7 separate regions of the Homo sapiens genome follow, and all the other regions are linked to region 1. Evidence: promoter capture Hi-C in 16 types of primary human blood cells and fetal thymus (Javierre and others, 2016). All regions are on one chromosome and are shown on one strand. The core of a region is centred on a gene start or on the middle of the fragment in contact, and the rest is flanking DNA. Distances in the headings are between cores, read along the strand shown. Region 1 holds the start of MMP14 (matrix metallopeptidase 14). Region 2 has its middle 150 kb from the start of TRD-AS1. Region 3 has its middle 110 kb from the start of TRD-AS1. Region 4 overlaps TRD-AS1 (TRD antisense RNA 1). Region 5 overlaps TRD-AS1 (TRD antisense RNA 1). Region 6 overlaps TRD-AS1 (TRD antisense RNA 1). Region 7 has its middle 3.6 kb from the start of TRD-AS1.

Evidence for each region. The method cuts DNA at HindIII sites, captures the fragments that hold promoters and counts their contacts. A CHiCAGO score of 5 or more calls a contact.
Region 2: a fragment that was not itself captured here is called in contact with the fragment with the promoter of MMP14 in region 1 in 1 of 17 cell types (naive B cells); the score reaches 5.2 in naive B cells.
Region 3: a fragment that was not itself captured here is called in contact with the fragment with the promoter of MMP14 in region 1 in 1 of 17 cell types (total B cells); the score reaches 7.4 in total B cells.
Region 4: a contact is called between a fragment that was not itself captured here and the fragment with the promoter of MMP14 in region 1, in 3 of 17 cell types (naive B cells, total B cells and endothelial precursors). The highest score is 19.3, in naive B cells.
Region 5: a fragment that was not itself captured here is called in contact with the fragment with the promoter of MMP14 in region 1 in 1 of 17 cell types (total B cells); the score reaches 5.3 in total B cells.
Region 6: a contact is called between a fragment that was not itself captured here and the fragment with the promoter of MMP14 in region 1, in 1 of 17 cell types (naive B cells). The highest score is 5.5, in naive B cells.
Region 7: a contact is called between a fragment that was not itself captured here and the fragment with the promoter of MMP14 in region 1, in 1 of 17 cell types (total B cells). The highest score is 5.5, in total B cells.

Annotation. Positions count from the first base shown.
Region 1 is chr14:22,835,218-22,837,974 of GRCh38, reverse strand. MMP14 (matrix metallopeptidase 14) reads right to left here and starts at 1,390. Exons shown (of 10, transcript NM_004995.4): 1 at 1,050-1,390. The coding sequence starts at 1,157. RefSeq lists a silencer at 1,516-1,732. The HindIII fragment of the contact is 13,873 bases long and covers 1-2,602 here.
Region 2 is chr14:22,327,576-22,330,332 of GRCh38, reverse strand. It overlaps TRA. Among named protein-coding and RNA genes, the nearest start is that of TRD-AS1, 150 kb to the left of the region's middle. The HindIII fragment of the contact is 6,538 bases long and covers 1-2,757 here.
Region 3 is chr14:22,370,806-22,373,562 of GRCh38, reverse strand. It overlaps TRA. Among named protein-coding and RNA genes, the nearest start is that of TRD-AS1, 110 kb to the left of the region's middle. The HindIII fragment of the contact is 3,763 bases long and covers 1-2,757 here.
Region 4 is chr14:22,388,972-22,391,728 of GRCh38, reverse strand. The region is part of intron 2 of TRD-AS1 (TRD antisense RNA 1); the gene reads left to right. It also overlaps TRA. Among named protein-coding and RNA genes, the nearest start is that of TRD-AS1, 93 kb to the left of the region's middle. The HindIII fragment of the contact is 553 bases long and covers 1,038-1,590 here.
Region 5 is chr14:22,405,888-22,408,644 of GRCh38, reverse strand. All of the region lies in intron 2 of TRD-AS1 (TRD antisense RNA 1), which reads left to right. It also overlaps TRA. Among named protein-coding and RNA genes, the nearest start is that of TRD-AS1, 76 kb to the left of the region's middle. The HindIII fragment of the contact is 5,358 bases long and covers 1-2,757 here.
Region 6 is chr14:22,450,347-22,453,103 of GRCh38, reverse strand. The region is part of intron 2 of TRD-AS1 (TRD antisense RNA 1); the gene reads left to right. It also overlaps TRA and TRD. Among named protein-coding and RNA genes, the nearest start is that of TRD-AS1, 31 kb to the left of the region's middle. The HindIII fragment of the contact is 5,990 bases long and covers 1-2,757 here.
Region 7 is chr14:22,485,185-22,487,941 of GRCh38, reverse strand. It overlaps TRA, TRAJ52 and the pseudogene TRAJ51. Among named protein-coding and RNA genes, the nearest start is that of TRD-AS1, 3.6 kb to the right of the region's middle. The HindIII fragment of the contact is 4,249 bases long and covers 1-2,757 here.

The DNA.
Region 1 (2,757 bases), core at 141-2,640:
AGGGCCCTTCCTGGCCCCTCCCAACCGCACCCAGGCCCTTGCCAGGCTGAGTGGGTTGAGATGGCCCAAAATAAGAAGCTCATTAAATCCGTCTCCCACCTTCACCCCAAAATAAGAGAGAGAGAGGAAAAACCTCCTCAGACAACTCCCACGCAGCTTCCTCTGGGGCCCGGTGGGCCACCGTCTGGGCCGGGGTGAGGGTGGGGGGCGCCCGAGCCAGCCCCGACGTGAGGGCACCCCGGACCAGACCCTCTCCCCATTCCCCAAGCGACGCCCCCAGGCTCCCTGCAATTAACACAGAAAAACTATTAACAACAAAAAGGGCCTGAAGGCGCCGACGCGGGTGGGGATAGGGGGAGGCAGCGACCCGGCCGATCGCCCGGCTCACAAGGAGAGCTTTGTGTGTACGGAAACGCGGCCAGCGCGCCGGCGCTGCGACCCTCGACGCCAGGGATGCGGGTAGGGACACAGCGGGGTCCTCTCGGGGAGACGGGGGCTGTGGCCCTGGACGCTCGGCCGTCCACCCTCGACCCCCACCTGGCCGCAGACTCGTCCGCTGAAGGCCTGGGCCACCCGGGGAGGCCGAAGCGCCCATCGGAGGGCGCGCCGGCGGGAGAGCGCTGGAGAGCTGGGAAGTCGAAGAAACAACAAACTCTCGCGCATGACGAGGAGCCGGGACAGCGCGGGGTTTGAGCGGAGTCCAAATGTTTATCAGGCGGTTCCAGAGCTGAGAGCAGAGCCCAAGGGAATCGGGGAAGGGGGAGTTCGCCCCAGTTGTAAAGTTCTTCCAAGGACTGGGAAAAAAGAAGGAATGGGAAGGAGAGTCGGCGGCGCAGGGGGTGGGGGCAGCTGGTTGGAAGCGGGCAAAAGTTGGATCGATCTGGAAGTTTGGAGACGAAGAGGAAAAAGAAAGGGAGGGGGAATCCTGCAGGCCTGAGCAGCGGAGATCCCAAAAGCCCTCCTCTCCGAATAGAGGCTGTCCCCTAGGAGACCCCCGGGCTCGCCTCCCGGCGGGCGCGACTCCGGGAAGGGCCGGGAAGCTCACTTACTTCGGGGCTGAAGCTGCTGCTTTGGGCCGAGCCGAGGGAGGCGAGCGCGGTGCCGAGCGTGAGCAGGGGGAGCAGGAGACAACGGGGGGGTCTTGGGGCGGGAGACATGGTCCGAGACCACCGGGTCAGCCGGGCAGTGTGGGCTCCGCGGCCGGGCCCACGCCCTGGGGTCGCACCGCCACTCCCTCGGGGCGCCTTTGTCTTCGGTAGGCACTGAACTTGAATTCCTAGACCGCTGTCGGCTTGGAGTTAAAGGGGATTGTTCCTCAAAGTGCCTGTTTGCTCTTCTCCTCTTTTCCGGTTTTTGATCTTTCTTCTGCTTAGTCGGCGAACTGGGGTCTGGTTCCCTCTCTCGCTCTCTCCTCTGGTCCCTCCCTTCTCCCACAGCCTCTCCTCCGTCCCCGCCCCAGTGCCCTCCTTTCCTGGTTGGGGACGTGGTTGTTTTAGCCTGAATCCAATTACAACCAAGAACTGGAAGGAAAAAAAAAAAAAACACCTCTAAGTTGCCTTTTTGTGGTGCAGGCTGCCATCTGCAGGGGTTGAGGCCGCGATGGACAGCAGGGGGCTGTAGGGGGATCCAGGGGACGGGATGTGGGAGACTTTGTCCCTATAAGCATATTCTGAGTGGCTTGATTCCTCTGGTATTCAGCATTTGTCTCACCTCAGGGTGGGAATTATTGGGGGCTATGTGGCTAGGGGCAACGAGGAGCTCAGAGTGTGGGATGGTGGTGGGGTCTTCTTCCATGCCCATGAGACCTGCAGAGGGAGAAGGGGCCAGTTTACTAATAGGGGGTTATCTTCTGGGCCCTGTAGACAACTGTCTATGTCCCTCCCTCTGCTGCTAAAAAATCCAAACTATAACCCAACTACCAACAACAAACCCCACAACCATACCGGATCTGTGGCTCCAACCTTTGTAGAAAGACAAAGGTGATTCCTTTATTGTCATTTGTAATGTGGCTGCACCTTTAATTGGAACTCGCTGGGAGGAAAAGGGTACAAGGCCGTGGGATCTGGGGGAAAGCAAATCAAGTTGGGTGAAATTATTGTAAAAGAAGGGATTGGGAGTTGGGACTCTGGGGTTTAGTTCCACCTCTACACTGAAAAAGGAGGCAATTCTTAAAGAGTTATAATCTCCTTTAGGGACTTACTGGACTCAGAACAAAAGGTGGAGGTATGTAGGGAAGGGAGAGGGCAGGATAAAGCTGACCGTGAGAAAGGGAGACAGATGAGTTGGGAACTAGACAGGTCTGGAAAAGAAGCACAACAGAAGCAGGAAAAGTGTGGGAGACAGAAAACTAGACTATCAGCGAAATCTAAGATCCAAGAATTGCATTTGGCCAGTGAGAGAGGACAGAGGTAGTGCGAGGAGGAAGGGAGAAGAAAGCAAAGGAAGGAATAGAGGAGGGTGGACAGAAATTAGGTCAGGTAGGAAGCTCCAGAAATCCTAGGGATGCACTTCTGTGGCAGAAGAATAGAAGTCTAGTGCTCAGTATTGTAATGAAAACAAAGGTCTTTTGCCCTCAGATTCATGATCAATAAAATGAAAAGCTTTTCAGGTCCTGTGGAGCCTCCAGGTTTGTGGGAGGTATATGGTGTGTGTTATTAAACAGCTACCTACCCCACAGTGACTGAGGGCTGAGCCCTTATGTAGGGCTTTCCTACACAAGCTGGGGTTGGGAGGTACAGGCCCCTCTTCAACCAATCT
Region 2 (2,757 bases), core at 80-2,579, 510 kb after region 1:
CATTGAAACGTAGGCATTTAATTACCTTGTGACTTGCCTACTTTATTACCAGTAGACTTGCCTACTTTTAACTTTTAAAAAACTTTCTTGATATACTTGATTCACTGTTAAGGCATTATATGAACAAAACTTCTTTTATTCATATAGAGTTGCTCAATACAAAATGTAGCTACCCAGAGTTAGCCAAACTGCAAGGTTAAGGTCATAGACCTCCAGACTAAATCTACATAAGACTTCTGCCCCCAACTGTAAGTCGCTAGGACTCAACTACAAAGGGGAGATAAGTTCATGCAAGACCACTCTCACTACTGGCACCAATGGCAAGGTTGGGTATTTCCTAAATCAGGTTCCATAATTCACTAGAAAGACTCATAGAACTCATTGAAACCTAGTATACTTGTGATTCGTTTATTACAGAGAAAGGATACATTAAAAGCAGCCAAGGGATGAGATGCATAGGGCAGAGTCTGGTAGGGTTCCAAACGTGAAACTTCCACTGTCCTCAGGGATGAGTTACCCTCCCAGCATCAAGGCGTGACAATACCCATGGAATATTGCCAGTCTGGAAAACTCAGCTGAGCTTTGGTGTCCAGAGTTTTTATTGGGGCTTCATTATATCAGATGACTGATAGCCTGTGTGGTTGAACTCACTCTCTAGGTTGTGACACAAACCCTCCACCCTATGTTATATGGTTGGTCTTTCTGGCATGGCCAGCCCCCATCCTGAGACCATTGATTGTGGCCAGCCTCACAATGAGTCATCTTGATAGCAGAAACTATTAAGTGCGGTCCAAGGACCCCACCATCAATTATAAAGACATGCCAACAATTCAGGAAATTCCGAGCCTTCAGAGGTTATCTCCCAGGAACTGGGACAAAGACCAGACCTGACTTTGGGTAAGGCTAAATTTCTTGCTACACGTTAGTAGAAGAATCAGCAAATTCCAGTGTCAGGAATCTAAGTGTTCCCATTGTTCTACAGTGCCTGGTTCACTCTGATCTGTCACCTCAGCCTGGAACCTCAAGTTTGGAGGTGATTGGTCTAATGCTGCTGCTGTGCCCACTGTGTATACAGGCATCCTCTGCAGTTTTCCATGTTGATACCTGCTTTTATGTGAATTCTGTTTTTAAAGTCTTCATTTTTTATCTCCAGTCATATTGGACTACAGCCTCAGTTCCAAAAGCACTGCTTCATATGTTTTCAATCCTCTCCAGTCAGTGTTTGAATTAATGGGATTGTCACTAGGAACATCTACACTTGAGGGACAGCCCAACACAAAGTAAGATACATGTCTGATGGCTCAGATTCATTCACTCATCACTATTTGTCATACTCCTTTGTGCCAGGCACTATTCTGAACACAGAGCATTTAGTGGAACTTAGAGGTTAATAGGAAGGACAGATATTATACAAATAATCACACAGAAATACATAGAAATTACAGGGTTCTTTAAAACAGTAACACGAGGGGAACAAATTTAGGTTGAGGGGCAGAGAAGTGTTCATTGAGGAAGAGACATTTCATCAAGATTTAAAGAAGGATAAATATTAGCCAAGTGACTGGAAACCGTGATTTGATTTGAACTGGTAAGAACAACATGATGTGGGCTCTGAGTTTAGTCTGCACTGCTTCCCCACTCCCATGAAATGAGGAAAATATTTCTTAACTAAACTAGAAATTCAATGGCCCTTTTAATCCAAGGTCCTTACTAGCTCTGAAGGTTAGAAAGAAACCTAGTGAAGTAATGAAGAAACATTCCAAGAGACAATTTTGGAGAGTTTTCGGTATATCTCATGCCTGCGTCTGCAGCAACTGGAGACTCTTTTCTATCTTTTAGGATTTCCAAGCAAAGGAACCAGAAATCACTATAAACATGAAGTCATCCTCATTGGAATGAGCCAAGTGTACTGCAGTGAAAAAGTGAACCAGGTCTGATACTCAGCTTAAAGGATGCTGGAATGAAAGCTGTGGTGGGTCTCAGACTAAACACTGTGAGATATCTGTGTGCTAAGGGACAAGAAAGAAAGGAAATCGCTTTACCTAGTGTAAGCAGATCAGGATTTGGGGAGGCAGAAGGCTCATAGAATCATTGGGCAGACTGGAGAAAAAGATTCTAGGCTCGACTTCCAGGAGTGATGCCCAGAACCACCCATCCATCAGCCTCATAAGAAGGCTGCAGTCCTATCCCTATGCCAGCTGCCTCCAGTGCTGCCAGCAACAGAATATGCAGCCAAATGGGCCCAAACAGGAAGTTACTGCTCCTGGCCCAATCAAGAAGATGCTGTTGCTGCCTAACCCAGACCACATGGCCTCCACTGCCCCTAAACCAAGAAAAGGGATGCCCCTGCCTAACCTGTTCCTCATATGGCTCATCTCCCAATCAAATACTTGGCTGAATACAGATCTGCACCTTAGCTGCAAGGGAGCCTGGAAAATGTAGTTCGCAAGGCAATAGTCACAGCACTTGGAAGGATAAATGTAGAGATGGTGTTTGAATCCTTTCTGGAAGTGATTAATGACAACTGTTCACTAAAAAAGAATGCCTGGAGAGACACGACAGTAATTATAGGGATAACAGAAATATTCTTAAGAATTAGGAGTCCTCAGCCCTAGAAGATGAAAAATGCGATGAAATATGTGAAAGTATTTAAATGGTCACAAGAGAGAGTGAAATGAACTTTATAACAGTAGAAACTGAGGTTTGAAGTTGGTGAAAGTATAAAGACTTTATATCATACTAAGCCACATTCGTACA
Region 3 (2,757 bases), core at 152-2,651, 460 kb after region 1:
AGGCAGGTAGCTGAGACTTTGAGCGGGGGAATGATGGTGAGCAAAGAGCAAAGGTAAGCCTCTTTACTGAGCTGGGTTACGAATCTTCTACTTCGTTTCTCTCTTTCTTTCATCGGAAAAGGTACTGTCTGAGAGACCAGCACCATTTGTATAAAATAGATCAGAATGAAGTTCTCTACATTTTAGAATTCAGAGGGCTGAGGCCTTGGCTCAGTCTCCTCTTGGTATTCACCCTCATTCAGGGAGACAGTCTAATATAGAAATTGGGCCTTTTGTTCATCATCTCCTATAAATTTCTTTTTATCTCCAAAAGGACTCCTCGTAGATCTAGATTGATATCCTCATATTTGAGAGGAAAGTTCCTGTGTGCCCCTCTGTCCCTCTCCAAGCATCTCCCAAATCCTAGGTCAGTTGCAGCCATAAAGATCACCAGTGAACCCGTGGAGCATCTGTACTTTTCTTTCTGCCCACATTTGCTATCTTCTGAGATTTAGAAGTTGTGCTGGATTATGCTGGTCAACTTGCTTAAGCAGACAACTGCATTTCTCAGAATCCCCTTTCATGTATCGCTCTGTATTAGCATTGGCTAAGAGATGAAATGGGAAAAGAGTTAGAACACAGAAGTGGTAACTATTACTCTTAGGAAGTCACTGTGGTCACATACAGTGATGGACAGAGGGAGAGATGCTTGGTAGGTCCCATATAGTCCTTGCTTTCCTTCACTCTGCATCCAGCGAATCTTTCTGACTCTTGGCTCTGCTGAACAACAGTGACTCGAGACCCATCACCAACTACTTGGCTGTGGACCCACAGAAGTGGTTGCTACAGACAGGTAACCACTCTCCATACAGTTCTTCATGAGCTCCCCTTCACAGTCCCACTTTGGTGGTTGAAAGTGTTTAGCTTCCTAGATTTCCCCCAAGCCCCAGCCTGTCTGGTCCATCTGTGCTACTGCATAAGATAGACAGGTTAATGACCCTTTTTCTGATCTTCTGACTCCTTCTTCCAGACCTTTCCTTCTCTAGCTTCTCTCACATTTGTAAGGTCTGATTCCACAACGAATCCACTATTCCTATATTCTGTATCATTCACAGTGGTTCTGCTTCCCTGACTGACTCTTAACTGACACAACTATTGGTGTTGGAAGTGAATCCAGAGATAGAATTTTAAGGATGGGAATTTGGTGTTGATTCTCTGATTCGATGAAGCATTAGTGACTATACTGCCAATGGTAAATGGGACACAGTAGTCCTTGATATCAAGTGCTTATAGAAGGCAAGGTGTTAGATTACCAGGTAGATGCTGCCATAGACCAATGTAGTGGAAGTAAGGAGTATGAGGACTGGAGTTTGTGGGTTGCTTCAAAGTGTCACAGAGAATATGGAGAAAAAGAAATAAACTCAGAGTGTTGAATGTTCAGTTCAAGATGCAGGCAAGGGACTGAAAAGTCTTTGTGACTACTCTGAAAGAAACTCTTATCTCTCATAGCTGCAAGATCTGATATTTCAAAAAACCAAGCCCAAAGACTGATCCTGCAGCTAGCTAGATTAGAACATCAATTCAATTGAAGGTCTTACAGTTAAAATTAGGGCTTTGATTGGGACAGAGCTGGCAGGCTGTATCAGGGCAGGAACAAAATGATGAGGTACCATGCCTGCCAAAAGGGCTGCAGGATTTTTCTAATTTATATTTACATTCCAAAAGTTTAGACTGTAATTTCTCCTTCTTTCCTCCCCTGAAAATTGAGATGGCAACATGTAGGCAGATTCTTTGGAAGCTGAGAACCTTGAAAGCCCTGTCTCCTTTCCCAGCAGAAGCAGCCTTTCCCTCTGAGGAGTTTAGTCCTCCCTTGATTGAAAAGGCTGTAAGGACTTACTCTGTGGAAAATTGCTGAGACCCCTCAAGACTCACCCCCAACATCTTTCACTGTTTGTATGCCTATAGCTAGACTCAACTCCTGGCAACCCATATCAGGGCAGGAACAAAATGATGAGGTACCCTGCCTGCCAAAAGGACTGCAGGATTTTTTCTAATTTATATTTACATTCCAAAAGTTTAGACTGTAATTTCTCTTTCTTTCCTTCCCTGAAAAGACCTAAAGCCATTTGCCAAGGTCATAGTGCATTTGGGAAGGGTAAATAACCAGACCTTTGGGGGATTTCTGGACATTGGCTCTGAAATGATACCAGTCCTTGGAGACACAATATGCTACTATTGCCTATTTACCAGAGTAGGGGTTTATTGAAGCTGAATGATTAATGGTATTTTGGCTCAGGTCCATCTCATATTGCATCCAGTTAGCTCTGAACTTACCCCATGGTTATTTCCCAAGTTCTAGAATGCTTAACTGAAGGAGGCACACTCAGGAAAGGCAGAATAACTACATTGATTATCTGATCTGAGGAGTGAGGACAAGTAGAAGGCATTAGAACTGCCTTTGTATTCCAAACTAGTAAATCCACAGCAGCACTGCATTCTGTAGAGACTTGTAGAGATTAGTGCCTCTATAAAAGATTTAAAAGATGCAGGGCTGGTGATTTTCACCACACCTCCATTCAACTCAACTATCTGGCCTGTGCAGAAGACAGATGGATCTTGAAGAATGACAAAGGATTATTGTAAACTTAATCAGGTGGTGAGTACAATCACAGCTGCTGTTCCAGATGTGGTTTCATTGCTATAGTAAATCAATATATGTACATCTAATATATGAATACTGATATGGGAAGTCATTTTTTCCTCTATATACATGTTAGT
Region 4 (2,757 bases), core at 65-2,564, 450 kb after region 1:
TAGAAAGCATGGTGGTGGCAGTGGAGGACTGGTTGCCTAGAGCTGTATATCCAGTCTTCTCAGTCCACCCTTTTCAAGGTTCTAGGGAGACTTTGATCTAGAATTATTACCTCCAGGTTCAGGGGCAGTCCAGGAAAGAGCACAAATCTCCTGAAATAAAATTGGAGGGAAACATTTGTGCATAACAAACCTTTTTCATTAGATTTGCAAAGAGATCTAGGTCATAAGAAGGTAAGTCTGCATTTTTCCTGGGACTTAAATGTTTTCAGTCTCCTGTCTTACATCTAGGTAGTTCATTAACTCAGCCTTGGAGGGAGGTTTTCTTAACCTCAGGGAGTTCCCCCAGTTGGGTCAATGTCACTGAGATGTCCAGCACAGCAGGACGCTGTCTTGCCTCCCAGATCATGGATCTATATGAGTCAAGGCTGAAGTAGCCTTGGCAGCCAATCTGCTCTTGGCAAAACCTGAAACTAGTACAATGTTTGCGTCTTTCGTTTTGTTTCACCTTTGCACACCTAGATCACCTAGATCACCACTTATCTTATGGTGTCATGGAAACAATGGAGCTTCAGCCCCACCCCAAATCTTCCCCTGCTTTATTTCTTCTAGTTGACCTATGACTTGACTTACTGAACCTTCATCAAGCTTGAAATCCTCTCTGTTCCTGCCCCTGTTGCTCTCCTACCTTGTTCCTCTGCAAAGATAGAGAAATGAGTCAGAGAAACTTCCTGATCACGTTAAAAAACAAATAAAATACCTGATGACTAGTTCAGGAGCTGGGTAACTACAGCATAATGTATAAAAGGTTGAATTGCTCACATAATTGTCTGTAAAGTTCAAGCAGCTTAGGCCTTTCTGTAGAAGACCTCAGTCTTTACCCTATGCACAATTCAAACTGTGGTTCAAGTGCAGGAGGACTGAGAGTACGACACTGAGGATACCTTAGTGACAGGGCTCTTGGAAGACACCACAGTTATAGTAACTCTGCATGTGTGTGTGTAGCACTGTGTGCATGAGTGTGCGGTAAAAATGAAGCTTTGCGAAGTGAATAACTATGTCTTTCCTGCACTATCTCATAACCCCAGTGCCTCCAACAGAGTAAGCACTTGCTTATAAGCATATTGCCCCATAGTACAGTGGTTAAGAGATGATGCTTTGGAATCCAACCATCTAGAATTGTAGCTCTTCTACCATAGTTGTTCAATCTTAAGAAAGTTTCTTAGCCTTTCTGACCTTAGGTTCCTCATCCATAAAACAGGGATGCCTTCACTCCCACACCCAGAACGTCGATGAGGATTAGAGATGATGCATGTGAAGCCCGAGGCATTGTGCCTGACACGTGGTCACTGCTCAGTAAAGAGTAGCTGTTTATGCTATTTCCATGTGTGGGTATGTGCAGATCTCTGTGAGTGTATGAGAGCTTTTCATTTCAGAAAATGAAATGTGCAGGCATGGGGTGGAACTGATTCTCTCCTACATGTCCTTTGCCACTCCCTTCTATAACCGTGAAGACTTTGCTCAAGTTTCCAGGGACCAATGTGCTCTTGAACCCTGTCTGGAAGGGGAACACCTCTTGCATATAAATAAGCTTTCTGTTGAAATGGGCATGAAGGGACAGTGGCTGACCCTCCCCTTCTGCTGTGTGCCCTGATGCTCATTTGACCGTCAGCACCGCTGTCTTCTGCTGTGGACGATTGTGATCGACCCAGTCTTGGGAGCTGCCAATGCAACAGAGAATTAGAGCCTTTGTATTCAATCATCATTGAGAGCCTATTAGGAGGACAAGGTACCATGTGGCTACTCAAAAGGCTGAGAGTCTGGAAATGGCCATGACAGAGGAAAATCCTTTCACTTGGCTGATGGAGGCCAGGTCTATAGCTTTAAGGCAATTGGCACAGATGCTGAGCGAGGGGGGTGCATTCATTTTGTGCTCAATAAAACAACTTTTATTCAGGGATGTGAATTGTTATCTCCTCGGGAAAGGTGAAGGTACAGAAACAGGTTGTAATTCCTTGGAGAATCTAATTCCCTTGTAGCTGGAGACAGAAAGACAGTGAGAGGGAGGGAGAGAGATAGATGAAAGAAGCTCTGTTATCCTAGGAAGTCCTAGGTAATTACCCAGCCTGAATTTCTCCTGGAGCTTCAGGATGGTACCAGATGTGTCCAGGCCCTCTGTGCGCCACCCCACAGAGCTAGCAACCAGAGTCCGTCTCCTCCTCCCGTGGCTGTTCTTCATGTCTGGGAACACATCAAAGGAGGTTTGATGTTCATAACTGCTGTGAGTCATTTTCACATGGAGCTGCGGGGAGCTGCCTGTACTGCTGCATGCTGTATAGCCCTTTGTGAGCGCAGCTGAGCTGAACCAATCCCCTATTATGGGTGAGAGTAGATTCCTCCTGGGAGACCTGGATTGGGTCCACACCCCTGTGCAGAATAAAATAGGACTTCTTATTGAGAAGTAGTTATTAAAACATCCCTCAGTCTTGGCTATGCACCTACACTGCCCACAGGGACAGCTCTGCATGGTCCTTCCACAAGAGTGTGGCCACCTCCAGGCCCTGCTGTTAGTGCCAATAACATCTGAAGCCTCACTGTTTGCCTCACTCCGAGGACAAAGGACATCAACAAGACTCCAACCACCACCCCATTGCTTCTCAATTGGAGAAGGAAATTCTGCTTGCTCCTGTTGAGTTTGGCTGTTGCTGGAAAAAGTGTCCCATACAACTCTCTTTGAGGGCTGGCAGAGGACTGGGAAAT
Region 5 (2,757 bases), core at 66-2,565, 430 kb after region 1:
AGAAAATAGGCATAATCAAATTAATAAAATATTACAAACTGATATATGAAAGCATTAAAGAATAAACAACCTGAAATTGTTAGGAGATCTCAAGATGCCTCTGAAAAGCGGATGTGTAGGCTTTGATCTTTTTTGTTTAACTCCTTTCAATAGGAGTTAAACAGGGGATGAGGAGTGGGAGAAGTGTTGCAAAGACCCTGGGGTGGGAAGGCACCCGGTACATTCAAGTATTTAATAGATGGAAGAAGGCATGTTTGGAAAATGAGGGAGAGAAGAGTGAGAGGTATGGCAGAAGAGGTGAGGAGTCAGACTGTGCAAGGTCTTAGAGGACTTTTAGGGATTTTGGTCATTTGCCTATCTGCAATGGGAAGTTACTCAAGGATTTTTAATCAGGGGCATGACATGATCATATTTGTATTTTGGAGAGATCACTCTGGCTGCTGTGGGGAGGAGATACTGAATAGTACCAGAGGCCGGCTAACTTACTCAAAAGGCTATAGAAACAATCCAAAGAAGAAAATGGTAGTTTTGACCTGGCTGGTGGCAGTGGATGGAGAGCAGTGGATGGGTTTGAAATGATGGTGTTATTCCTTCAGATAGGGAATCTTAGGCTAGGGCCATATTTGCAAGGAAGATCTTGATTTAAGTCTTGGAGTTGAGCTGAAGTGCCTTTGAGACACCCGAGTAGAACTGTTGGTCAGGTGGACACATAGATATTAATTCATGTATTCAACTCACATTTGCTGACTACCCGCTACAGATGAGTCACTCTATTAAGAATTGCATTGGTACAGGAAAATATATTGAACTTGGATGCTTCTCTCAAGGAGTTTAAAATTTATTAGACAGTCATGAGGAATGGTTATACAGGATAGCTATCTTTAAATATTTGAATATGCGAAGGTGAACTTAGTCTGCGTTGCTCTGGAAGGCATAACAAATATAAAGATATGAAGTTATGGGAGGCAAATTTTGATTTGGTATAGGACAGATTTTTTGAAACAAGAATTGTCATTGAAAATATTTGAATTGAGGCTGGGTGATCACTTACTCATTCAATATTTAGTGAACATTTAAACTGAATGAGGGGATTCCTACTTTGTTTTTAAGATCCTTTCTGGATTTCAAATTCAACGATTCTAATTTTCTGTTTAAAATTTTAATTGTTCAAAGTGAAGGTCACAATTTGGATTTCCTTGAGTCCATTTTCTTATTTGGACCCTACCTATATCATCCCTGAGAGCTTTCAAGATGGTGTAATGAGGACTTTCTCAAGGCTGTGGCACCTTCCGAATCGAGAATGTGTTATATGATAGAAGTAACATTCTCTTCGTTGCCCGTCTCTGGTGTCCCGTGATGCAGAGGAAGTGGCATATTCACATGGTTTCAGATTCCCTTATTTTCTCTTGCCTTTCACTCATAGTCATGGTTTCACAATGTTGGATGACCTCTTTGTGAGGGCAGCCAGGTGATGGCACTGTTCCTGAAGCCAGGATGCCTTCTAGCTGCCTTTGGGCATCAGACAGGTATCTTCTTTTTCTAGCCATCCAGCCTGCCCAATGACTCTTCTTGGGAGGCTGGTGAGAGTGGCAAGCCTATTCCTATTCTGACGTCAAATTCAAAGTCTTTTTGAGTGTTGGCAGACACTCTCTGGGATTTCTCTTCACTGCTCTGAACTCTTCCAAGTCAGCCCTTCTCATGATGGATAAGAATCACAGAAAGCAGAACAGTGGAGGCAACAATAATAAGAATTTAGTCAACTCTCAATTGTCCTTACCAGTGGAGGGGGAAGAAAATTAACAATACAGGCTGGTCACGGTGGCTCACGCCTGTTATCCCAGCACTTTGGGAGGCTGAGGCAGGCGATTCGCCTGAGGTCAGGAGTTCGAGACCAGACTGGCCAACATGGCGAAACCCCGTCTCTACTAAAAATACAAAAATTAGCCAGGCGTGGTAGTGGGTGCCTGTAATTCCAGCTATTCGGGAGGCTGAGTCAGAAGAATTGCTTGAACCTGGAAGGAGGAGGGTATGGTAGGCTGAGAACACGCCACTGCACTCCAGCCTGGGTGACAGAATGAGACTCCGTTTCAAAAAAAAAAAAGAAAGAAAGAAAAAAAGAAAATGAATAATACAAAAATAATAGTGGGTGTTCATATCGCTCATTTGGCTTCGGGATTTCTGCAGAGAAACTTGGTCCATGCCCTTACTATGCTAGGGCCTTCAGTGGCCCTGTCTCCCCCTAAATCTGAGGCTTCAGATGTTACATAAAATGCTTCCTTAATTACCTGCTAGTAAGCACAGGAATTATTTAAATTTCTCCAGGTTTTTTACTTTAATTTTTGTCTGGTTTCTTTTTTCATTGTGCGCAGACCCTCAGATTGTTGGGCAGTCCAGGTATTTTCTCCCAGGATTTCCTCCTCCTTGTCTCTAGGCTATTTTTCATGCTAACCCCAGGCCAACCTCTGGTTCTACATTACCCCAATCCATCACGGGCCAGAACTTCATGTCCTCATTCATCCTGCAGGATTGGACCACTGGACGCACACATTCTTGTGTCTCTTGTTCCTCTTCTTCCCAATCAGACTTAATCAGACACCAATAATTTGTGGATCTTTTTTTTTGGCTTGATCTTGAATTGAAGGTATGTGGCACAAGATTCTGGGTTTCCATGGATAATCCATCGTGGTGTGGTAAAAAGTATATTGACTCAGTAAATATTAATCCACTTCCTTATTTGCTTGTGGATGAATGAGAAAT
Region 6 (2,757 bases), core at 135-2,634, 380 kb after region 1:
CTGACTGGGAGTGAGAGGGAGTGCCAGATGCCAGGCCAAGGGCTAGTGGGCCTGGAGGAATGGGAAGGTCATCTTTTGGAATCTGAGAAACATTTTGATGAGGCCAGAATTATGTGGACTCCTTTTCTTGAGGGAAAGAGTGATGCTCTGATCATCGTCTGGACCTTTCTGTATTTAGGGACCCTGGGTCTCCAGGGGTGTAATGTGAGAGATGGGCCTCACCTGGCTCCTCCTGGGGAAGGGGAATGCTGCTTTGGGTAACTGGTTTTGGCGGGGGTTCAGAAGTTCTTCCTTGGTGAGAGAAGTGATGGGGATGGCACTGGAAGGGAAGTGGCATAACTGTTGTTTCTGATTCAGCTTGAAAAGGAGCTCATTAGAGACCTGAGGCAGAGGCTGGGCCAGGCAGGAAAAACCTCCACACATGCCCTAGTCTAGCTGCAGCCCTGATGGAAGAGCAGACTTCTTAAGAGCACAGATGCTGGCATCAAGCAGGTGATTCAAATGATGACTTTACTAAGCTGTGTGATCTTGAGGAACCCCTTTAAGATTCAGTTTCCTGATCCATAAAACGCAAGTCATGGTACCTCAATTCCACATGATCGTAGTGAGGACTGAGTGAAGTGATAATCATTAAAGGACTTAGCCCAGTGGCCTAATAAATGGTAGGCACTCAAAAAGTGGTAGTTACATAATTGTGACATACAATAATAGATTGCATTCAAAGTCCATCACATGGCCCACTTCCACGCAGATGTTCCCAACGACCATGCCTCTTTTCCCCACTGCCGCTGTTGTTACCATAGAAGTACACGTTTCCATTACTTTATTCCATGCTGTTTTGTCCTGTTTCTCTGTTCTGTTTTACGAAGCTAAGTGGTCTCTCCAGGTTTACTGTATCCAGAGGACTAAAGTGTGGGATCTACAGCTGTGGGTTTGTATAGACCTGTTCTGTTAGTTTTGTGCTACCCAGGAGCTCCGTAAGTAAGAACTTGAAAGAAGCTCCCAAGGAAAAAAAAAGCATCAAAAGGCTTCTGAGAAGATAAAGGCCCTGGGTTTGCAGTGCAGTCTCTTTAATCCAATGTTGGTAGCTTAAAAATAGAAGCTGCCATTCAAAGATATTCTAGGTTGTGCCCCCTCTGGATACCCCTTACTTTTTCACTTCAAAGGCTGATGAAATGCACCAATATGAAGTTCAGCACTTCCCAAACTTCAATTAAGCACATCTCCCCCGCTTTTTTGGTCATAGTCATCTGTCATAATTTGCTTAATAATTTAAAAAAATTTATTCACTTTTTAACTTAAAATATAATTAAAAGGAAACTTGAAATCACATGGGTTTGATAGCCTAGTTGTACTATTCTGATAGCCATTAAAAGATAGATCCATGCAAATAAAAAGAACGTCTCTCCATCTGAAAATATGTGCTGTGCACTCCGCAGTTAGGGAAATATGGACCAAGTAAATGGGTAAACAGAGGAACTTAATTCATCCCTTACTTGGCAAACAAAGGGAAATTAGGATAATCAGTCTTTAGCTTTGTTGGAATTGTGGATAAACTTATTTTAGTGAAAATTTTAAGGATAATAAGGTCTAAAGGCAAAGGCCCAAATTAGTTAAAATTTCAAAATCTTACTAAGATGTTGATTTTTTAAAAAAGTCTGAACATCTCTGCACTGACTCCACTAGCACAACTTTGGGTGTCTTTCTCCCTGACGGCAGGGCCCCTGCCCCTTTTCTCCCTGCAGTGTGTGAGGTCTTGGGTTGCTCATGCCTGTCCTTCCCCTTCCTCAGCCTCCTTGCCTGCATATGCCTGGAACTGCTTTGTCCCCATTTGGTCTCTGAGAAGAGCCCACCATCACCACCCTATCTCTCTAGAGCCTTCTTTTACCTTGAAAAACCTGAGCTGAGTGCCAAAGTCCCAGCCAGGGCAGGGCATGCTGTTTCTTTTCCAACAGCTGGTTGGGCAGATTTGGGACCACTGACCCCTATTGCTAGACTTCCCTAGGACCTTCGAAATGGGTTTTTGTATTGGTTTATTACATTTTCTTACTTAAGATTAATATGTACTATCTAACTGGAATCTGCTGCCAGGTGGAGACCACTGTCTTATTTTATTTTATTTTTTAGCAAGACACGGTCGAATTCAAATGTCATTGAAAGGACACCAAAGATGCCTTCTGTGTTGAGCACAATCCTTCAACAACCTTAGCATTGATTCTTGCATAACTGTTAATAAGTGACTGGCACCATATACTCTTTGCAAAAACGATGAACACTGGTGAGTGGTAGGGAACTCTCCTGGCTGTGTCCTGGAGACTTCAAAGCATTTCTTAGTTGGAAGCACTACACATTCACTTTGTCCTGCTTGGAATCTGGTCTCAGTGGGAACCAGAATGTCCCATATTTCTCACTAGTAACCTAGTTTTCATTTGCAGCTCAAACAATTAGAAACAAATGTCTGAAACAGGTTATTTTCTTCTAAAGAGAAATATCGCAACACCAGGGACTACTTGCGCTCGCCCCACCCTCCATGCCCAGGAGACGGATTCAGTTCTGAGCTCTTCCAGGAGGATGTGTTTGGCATAAGGGAGGTCAGAACGTTTGGAATCACGTTGGTAAAACCACCTGGACTCAAGTCAGCTTCATTCTGTGTCCATTCTGACTCTGCTCAGGGAGTTGGGCCAATGACTCTGTGGTTTCTACAGCCTGACCCAAATTCGATGGACTGGGCAGAGTTCTCTGTTTCCTCTGAGCCAG
Region 7 (2,757 bases), core at 184-2,683, 350 kb after region 1:
ATGTCAGTCTCTCAATGTTGGCTCCCACACTACTGGGCTTGGAGAAACTCAACAGAAAATGGGCAATATTGGTCCAACCTGCACCCTGCTCATTAGAACCAGACTTCACTTGGAGGCATCTCACACATTCAAGATGATCACAACAACTCAACATTCAGCCTTGTAGTGGCACTGGCATATTCCAAATCCACACCCACCTGGTATGGATTTATGCTGCCACTGAATGGAGCAGATACAGCTGGCAATGTCAGGTGGCCTCCTCCATACACACTGAGCTGGGATTGTGCTGTCTGCCTGACCAACTATGCCTGCACAAGGGCAGCTACTCCAGAAATATAGGGACTTGACTCATCCCTTTGGCATAAGAGGACACTGCCCTTGATAGAGATCCTAGGAAAACAGAGTGTTCTGCAATAGCAGCTGGAGCGATCATGCCCTTCTCTGACACCCACCTCACATCTCAGTCTTATCAAGCTGCAGTGAAAGACATATTCCTGCTTTTCAACTTTGTTTCCCTTTCTGTCTCTTATTCCTTTCATTTATCATTTCTGAGCACCCACGGGGCTTCAGACTCTCTTCAATCCATTTCCATTTGACTCTCTTAGAATCCCTACAGGAAACAGCCAAAAGGCCTGAAACGGGGAAGGGAGCAAAAGTACATAAGGAACACTGTGAGTTTAGGTCTTTCCAGCTTGCTTGGCTTCACAGTTAGTCATGTCTCCTTTCCAAATATCAGCTTCTCATAGCTGTCACGCATCTCCCTGCTTCAGGGAGTTTTACAACGACTGACAGAAGGAACTTTATGAATCTTAAAAAACAGTCAAGTTTCTGTCTCTTCCCAGCGGGGTGCAGCGGCAAACACACCAAAGCCAAATCTTTCTATCTGCTCTAATTATCAGCCAGGATACAAGTCACCACAAGGAGAAAGGTATTAAGCCGTGTATCTGAAACTCTTTGGAATTAATTGTAATCCCTTGCCTGGTGGTTTCAGTGACAGGGAATGGACACAGTGGATGTTTATTTCTGTCTATCCTTTCTCTCCCCGCCTCTCTCTCTGTAGTTTTGCATCTATAGAAGCAAAAGGAGATGACAGACAGGAAACAGAGAGGGATTTGAAATAAGACCTCAGATTCCCATTCAGGTTTCATTTTTTCCCTCTCCACTTTCATTTAAAACCCATTCTGAACCAAATACCACATACCTATTCAAACTCCGCTCTCAATTTTCCTCTTTATTGTGGATGATGCTGGTGGAAACGGCCTCGGCTATACCAAGAATAATTTAAGATTGAGGTAAGGAAGGACTTCTGACAGGGAATGCTACTAAACATTAGAACAGGTTACTCAGGGGAGTCATTTGGAAAGGATGACCTCCCCCTCAAAAAAGTTAGGGCATCACCTCCAGAGAAGACACTGAAAGCAGGAAAGATTCTGACTTTCCAGGGTCAAGGTCAGCTGTACACGCAGCAGGGAGACAGACCTAACAACTCAGGGTCCAAAAGAAAATCTGTGAATATTGAGGTTAAAGAAGAGAAAGGACCTCAGAGGACACCACTTAACTTTAAGCAATATCTGGTTCTTTAAAACCTGACACTGGGGTGACATTCCAGAATTTCCAGTATACTGCTGTGTCTTGTTACACTTACTTGGATGGACAGTCAAGATGGTCCCTTGTCCAAATGTCAGCTTTCCATAGCTAGTACCACCAGCATTAGCACTGCACTGGAGGCCTTTACAAGAACCCTAGGGGGACTTCTGAAGCTCGCAGACTTCCTCCTCTTTTAATTCTGGGGAGAATAAACTCACCCAAAGGGGCCTGGGTCTGTGAGGCTCAGTTTCATCCCACCAAAGGCTGGAAGACCATTTCCACCTCTGGTCCTGGGACACTGACCTGCTGCGTCCCCCGAGGTCCGGCTTCCTGCCTCCCATCTCTCTCCATTTCCTCTGGTTTTTGTCTTGAGGCTTACTGATTTCTCATGTTCAGCATCTCTCTTTCTAAAGGTCTCATTTCCATTTTACAGCATCATTTTCAGGACAATTTCTCTGATCAGTTTTCAAGACACGTCCTCCCCTCCCCTCGAGGTGTCACACATTTCTGATGACAATGAATTGATTACAAGGAGACAAGAGGAGAGTGTTCAGCTTTTTGGAGAATGACTAGAATTAGATGAGATTTAGACTGTAGCCTCATGAAACAGGATCTCCTGAGCTTCCCTTCATGCCCTAGCATAAGAAATAAAAATGATGGGCACATGTAACTGAGCTTTCACACAACGTAGTTTTTTTGTCAGTCTTGAATTTGGTGAAATGTAAGTAGTAGCTCACAGAAAAAAGTTTTTATCTGTGCCTTCTTACGGTGATTAACTATCCTGGGGATCATTCTGGGCTTAGCAAAGAATGACCTTTGTCCTGGAAAACCCCTGAAACCCAGGAAAACCAGGACATCTGGTTACTCCACAGTCTCACCTGAGGTGTTCTGACCTCACAGAGCAGCCCGGTGACCACAGTGGTAGGGTTAAGTGAGGTCTCTATTAGGGGCAGGCTTTTGCACATTTACTTGGGGTTCCTGTAAATTTCATCCCTTGACCAAATAATGCTTCTGTTGCCAACAGACACAACCACAGGAATCCTGGGAGTCACCCTGGCTGTGTCTGGATGTCACAAAAAATGTGAAGAGCAAAATCCAGGCAGTTTCATGATGTGGTGATGATCAAACCCTGTCCCCCAGGGGTGTGAAAAACAGACACCTCTTTAATAG